Regions from separate parts of the Homo sapiens genome. Here region 1 is linked to region 2. Evidence: promoter capture Hi-C in human tissues and cell types (Jung and others, 2019). All regions are on one chromosome and are shown on one strand. The core of a region is centred on a gene start or on the middle of the fragment in contact, and the rest is flanking DNA. Distances in the headings are between cores, read along the strand shown.

Region 1 (3,031 bases), core at 207-2,706, 130 kb after region 2:
TAGACATATAGTGTGTGTGTGAGAGAGAGAATTTTTTAATGAAATAATTGAATACATTGGAAGTGTTTCATTCAAAATACTCATCCATTATTCTTTGGATAGTAGCATAAATTTGATGTTTTATGTACAAAAGTAAAAACATTTGAAAAATATCAGGCTGAATATGGGTTTGTACAATATAATATGTATGATGAGGAAAGGGAAGGAAACTGAATTCTCAGAAGCTATGAAGTCACATTATTGTACTGGTTAAAAATATTGTTAAGTATTATTTCGACTATAAGGTTAAAGTGAATGTTAATGTAGCTGACATGACTGTTGGTGTGAAATGGTAGAGCAGTAAAATTCCTGACCTGCTGCAGGTCTAGAAAGTTTGGCATTGTTGAACTTAGTCTATGTTATTCTTCTGTTAAATGAGAGCATTTAAAAACCACTCTACCAGCTCCTCAAGTGCAGACAGAATGCCGAGTTAACTGGCCAGAAAATGCAGGGTGCTGAGATTCAGGAAAGTCAGAGGGCCACAGGATCTCGGCCTGAAAAGAGAAGCACTCCCTAGTGATCACTAATGCACAGTAGTCTTTGTGCAGGGATATTGGAAGGGAGAAAATGCCCCTATGATGTAGGTGATTACAACACTGTAACTCTGATTAGGGCATACACAGAGGCTGAAGACAAGGCCTTAGACTCAGGAGGCAAGCACTTCAGTAGAGGCTAACATGAAGCAAGAATGATGAGCGTCTCAGATGAGGGGACAATCTGAGTAGAAGAGAAATAGCAACTAGATCTGCACAAAAACAATTTCAAATATTGGGAAATTGGAAATATATCAGGGCCCCAACATAGGTCTGTGTTTGCTGTATGTACTATAGAACTGTGCTTAATTTAATTAGAAAGTAAACTATATAAAGTTCTAGTCAAGAGCATTATACACTTAATCACAAAGTCTTACTAACTAGGAGATTGATAAATGTGACTAGGCGTGAGTGTCTTGCTGCAGACAGTTCCTGGTCCCAATTTTTTTTTTTTTTTCCTGCAGAGATCATTGAAATTCAGTTGATCACACTGCTCTTTAGTCATATGTTTACATGCTTAATTTCTCCACTACCCTACAATCTCCTCAAAGGCAAATTCTCTGCCAAGTTCATAGTTTATTCCAGTATCTACCACAGACACAAAAAATAAAGAGCCAATAAATTCTTTTTTTAGTTGTTCCAGCAACATTTATTGAATATGTAACTTTATGTCTGTTATAGATTAAGTTCTCCAATATATGTGAATCTGTTTGCTGGCTTACTTCATTGTCCCTTTGTTATGTTTTTCTGTCTCAGCACCAGCCCCACATTGCTTTAGTTCTCATAGTTTTAAGTCTTGATGGCTATGAGGGTAAGCCTCCTTCCTAATTCTTCTTCAGGAATGCCTAAGAGCCAATCAATTCTTGATGAAGGAATGAACCAGTTTGAATATTGCCCTGCCTGTGCTGTGCACTTGCTCATTTTTATGTTGGTTGCTGTTTGCTGCTGAGATTCTGTCCCCTTAGCATTGTCTCAGGCTTGGATTATCCCAGAACAAGTTTTCTATTACTGCATTGCGTTGTGTTGGGCAGTCCATGTGTGTGTGTCACATTGTCTTTCTGTGCTACTTTTCCTTCTTAGTGCTCTCTTGTTTGCTTTTTAGGGTTGTCTTCTTCCCTATTCCTGGATGATTGTAGACCTCCTGCCCTTTAATGGTAGTTGCCAATCCCTGTAAGCACCTACCCCCAAATATGTTTATTTATATGCTTAAAGTAATAATAAATTTTTCTGAGTAATAACATACACATTATAAAATATACACACAAGAAGTATGAGATAATGTTGAAATAGAATATATGATATATAATTTATAATATACTTGTTTATATATATTTTATACATATATAAATAAGTGTAATATACTCATTTTTAAAAAGAGCAATATGATCAAGAGCAGCATGAGATGATGTTGAAGTAGAATATGTTATATATAATTTATAATGGACTTTTTAAAAAAGCAATATTTTTTAAATGAAATCTTTTGGACATTTACTATTTTTGAAAACCTTATTTTAACACCTTTTGAATGATTCAAAATTCTGGTTCTAATTTCAGTTTATTTCAATATTTGGTCTTAAGGGCTGTTAGAGCTGAAAAGGATACCTTCTAGAGAAGCAGATTCAGATGGAAGGAAAACTATACCTACTAAAATTTTCAATCCTATTTACCAATTTTGCAAAGATAATTTTTTTTTAATTTAAATCTGGCTGGTAAATATCCATTTTCTTGATGTGAATCTGTCATTTTTGCATGTTAATCAGAAGGTGCTACACATTTACTTTGTTAAAAAGTAGGGGCTGGAGTTCGAGGTTACAGTGAGCTATGATTGCGGCACTGAAGTCCAGCCTGGGTGACAGAGCAAGACCCCGTCTCTAACAACAACAACAACAACAACAACAACAAAAACATAAAAAACAAGTAGGTTCGAAGCTTACTGAAATTCTTTCAAAGATTTTAAATCAAGTTAGAAAAATTCTGCTTACAAATTTTTCAGTTGTGTAGATGTGAAAGTGTTTGTAGGTGTCACACTATTAATAGTTTTTGGCAACATAGTCATATAATGATGAAAATATTTCCAAATAGCCATTTTTATATGCACTCTTCATACTACAAGTCTCTGAAAGTAGTTCCTTTGTGTCTCAGTGATGAACTATAACTTTCACTCTGAAAATTCAAATGAGATGTATTTATTTCTTTGAAGTTTACTAGTGGCCATTTACAATCTCAGAAAGGTCAGAAATGTGGCATACTTGCTCTTTGTGCGAAAAATACACATAAAACTCATATTTGAGTTTACAGCTTGTTTTTTTTGAGACAAGAATCTTTCTGTGTCCAACCCCCCCAACCCCAGCTGGAGTGCAGTGGCGTGATCTCGGCTCACTGCAGCCTTCGCCTCCCAGGTTCAAGCGATTCTCCTGCCTCAGCCTCCCAAGTAGCTGGGACTACAGGTGCCCGCCACC
Region 2 (2,954 bases), core at 454-2,953:
GTCAGGCTTAAAGCAGAATTTTGTTTTCTATCAGAAATTCTAGAGTAGGTGGAAGGTGAAGACCAAAGAAGGTATTTTCTTTTTCTTTTTCTTTTTTTTTTTTTTGAGATGGAGTCTCGCTCTGTCGCCCAGGCTGGAGTGCAGTGGCACAATCTCAGCTCACTGCAAGCTCCGCCTCCTGGGTTCAAAGGATTCTCCTGCCTCAGCCTCCCAAGTAGCTGGGACTACAGGTGCCCGCCACCATGCCTGGCTAATTTTTTGTATTTTTGGTAGAGATGGGGTTTCACTGTGTTAGCCAGGATGGTCTCGATCTTCTGATCTCGTGATCCGCTCGCCTCAGCCTCCCAAAGTGCTGGGATTACAGGGGTGAGCCACCGTGCCTGGCCCAAAGAGGGTATTTTTTTCTTCCCTCTCGGTATCATCCTTACTCAATTACAAATGATCAAGGGCGGTACTGCCAGAGTCACCTCGAGAGGCCCTGTTCTCTGCCACCCAGGCTGTTTTGTAGTCTCCATTCCAAATTGTCGTTACTCCGGTTTACCCCGTGGATGGCGTTTAAGACTTTTCTTAAATTTGAAATTCACAGAACCATTTTAAAGTGAACAATTCAGTGGCATTTAGTACCTTCGCAGTGTTGTGCAACTTCCACCTCTATCTAGCTGCAAAACATTTTCTTTTCTTTTTTTTTTTGGAGACAGAGTCTCGCTCTGTTGCCCAGACTGGAGTGCAGTGGCGTGATCTTGGCTCACTGCAACTTCTGTCTCCCGGGTTCAAGCAATTCTCCTGCCTCAGCCTCCCGAGTAGCTGGGATTACAGGCACACGCCACCCGCCTGGCTAATTTTTTGTATTTTAGTACAGACGGGGATTTACCATATTGCCCAGGCTGGTCTCAAACTCCTGAGCTCAGGCAATCCGCCCGCCTTGTCCTCCCAAAGTGCTAGGATTACAGGCGTGAGCCAACGCGGCCGGCCTTGTAAAACATTTTCATCACACAAAAGAAAACCTTCTACCCATTAAGCAGTTACTCCTTCCTCTTCTCAGCCCCTGTCAACCACCAATTTGCTTTCTATCCTATGGATTTAACTGTCTGGATATTTCATAGAAATAGAATCACATAATGTATGACCTTTTCTGTTTGGCTTCTTTCTATTAGCCTAATGTTTTTGAGGTTCATTCCTGTTGAAGCATGTATCAGTTCTTCATTCCTTTTTTGGGATGAATAATGTTCCATAATTTATTTATCCTTTCGTCTGTTGATGAACATTTGAGTTGTGTCCACATCTTGGCTATTGTGAATAGTGCTGCCATGTACATTCGTATGTAAGTATTTGAGTATCTGTTGGGTGTATACCTATGAATGGAATTGCTGGGTCTTTTGACAATTCTGTATTTAACTTTTTGAGAAACTGCCAACATTTTCACAGGGGTTGTACCATTTCACATTCCCACCAGCAATCTACAAGGATTCTAATTTCTCCACATCCTGCATTTAAGACTTGCAAAGCTGAATTAATCACAGGATGAGGAAGTGGCTTCTCTGAAACATTTTCCTCTTTCACATTTTAAACTTTCTCTTTCATACATGACATGAAACACAGCCTACGCACGAAAGTGACTAGGAGGAAGGATATTATAAAGTGATGCAAACAGAAATTCCACCAGCCTCCATGTATCATCATGTGTCATAACTCAGTCAAGCTCAGTGAGCATTCTCAGCACATTGCCTCAACAGCTTCAAGGTGAGCCAGCTCAAGACTTTGCTCTCCACCAGGCAGAAGATGACAGACTGTGAATTTGGATATATTTACAGGCTGGCTCAGGACTATCTGCAGTGCGTCCTACAGATACCACAACCTGGATCAGGTCCAAGCAAAACGTCCAGAGTGCTACAAAATGTTGCGTTCTCAGTCCAAAAAGAAGTGGAAAAGAATCTGAAGTCATGCTTGGACAATGTTAATGTTGTGTCCGTAGACACTGCCAGAACACTATTCAACCAAGTGATGGAAAAGGAGTTTGAAGACGGCATCATTAACTGGGGAAGAATTGTAACCATATTTGCATTTGAAGGTATTCTCATCAAGAAACTTCTACGACAGCAAATTGCCCCGGATGTGGATACCTATAAGGAGATTTCATATTTTGTTGCGGAGTTCATAATGAATAACACAGGAGAATGGATAAGGCAAAACGGAGGCTGGGTATGTGTGATGGAAAAATTCTTCATTGTTCTTTCCTGTGAAATAGAAATTGAGAATTTCCTTGCTAGTTAAAACAACAACAAAACACTTTACCTAAGAATACTATTTTCCTTGGGTGGTTTGTTTTAATTTTTAAAATAAAAATATACTTTCTGGCTTATTTCCAATGAATCCTTGAACTTGAACTTTATAGTTGGAAAGCACTTATGTTTTCAGTTTTTATTCTTAACAGTATAAATTACAGTAGTGAGCTTTGGGGATTAATAAAGCACCTCTCTCATGCAGCTTCACAATCAGCTGTGCACACACTCTAATCTAGTACTTAGCTTTTGCTAGGGTTGTCATGACAGTACAGACAGTACAGAAATTTCTACAATCAGCACAGAAAGTTGCTATCAGATGCTGTTATTTTTAGGTATTTATGGGTTGCAAAAGACAGGTGTAAATTTTTGTAAGTTCATCGCTTACAAATTGGTGTTTTTCAGTTTACTAATACATAATAAATAGTAACATATATTAATATATAGCAAATTACATTACATATAATATATAACACATTATTACTAATAATAAATTCCGGGCTGTTAAAGTTTGTTGATTAAAACATAATATACTGTATGACCAGCAAGAACCTTTATTCAAGAATTTTCAAATAAAAATTTACTTTATTATCAGTGCCTAAAAAAGCCAAGACTATGTAGAGGCCTGTGTTGAAACTCATGTTGGTAAAAAGCCTGACACAGCTGGATGTATAT

The links. The method cuts DNA at HindIII sites, captures the fragments that hold promoters and counts their contacts. A contact is called where the count stands out against the background at its distance.
Region 1: a contact is called between a fragment that was not itself captured here and the fragment with the promoter of BCL2A1 in region 2, in 1 of the 25 tissues and cell types used here (liver).

What each region holds. Positions count from the first base shown.
Region 1 is chr15:79,840,668-79,843,698 of GRCh38, reverse strand. ST20-MTHFS (ST20-MTHFS readthrough) reads left to right here. Exons shown (of 4, transcript NM_001199760.2): 4 at 1-152. MTHFS (methenyltetrahydrofolate synthetase) reads left to right here. Exons shown (of 3, transcript NM_006441.4): 3 at 1-152. Among named protein-coding and RNA genes, the nearest start is that of MTHFS, 55 kb to the left of the region's middle. The HindIII fragment of the contact is 6,213 bases long and covers 1-3,031 here.
Region 2 is chr15:79,969,945-79,972,898 of GRCh38, reverse strand. It overlaps BCL2A1 (BCL2 related protein A1), which reads left to right and starts at 1,703. Exons shown (of 2, transcript NM_004049.4): 1 at 1,703-2,199. The coding sequence starts at 1,780. RefSeq lists an enhancer at 1,080-2,279. The HindIII fragment of the contact is 21,858 bases long and covers 1-2,954 here.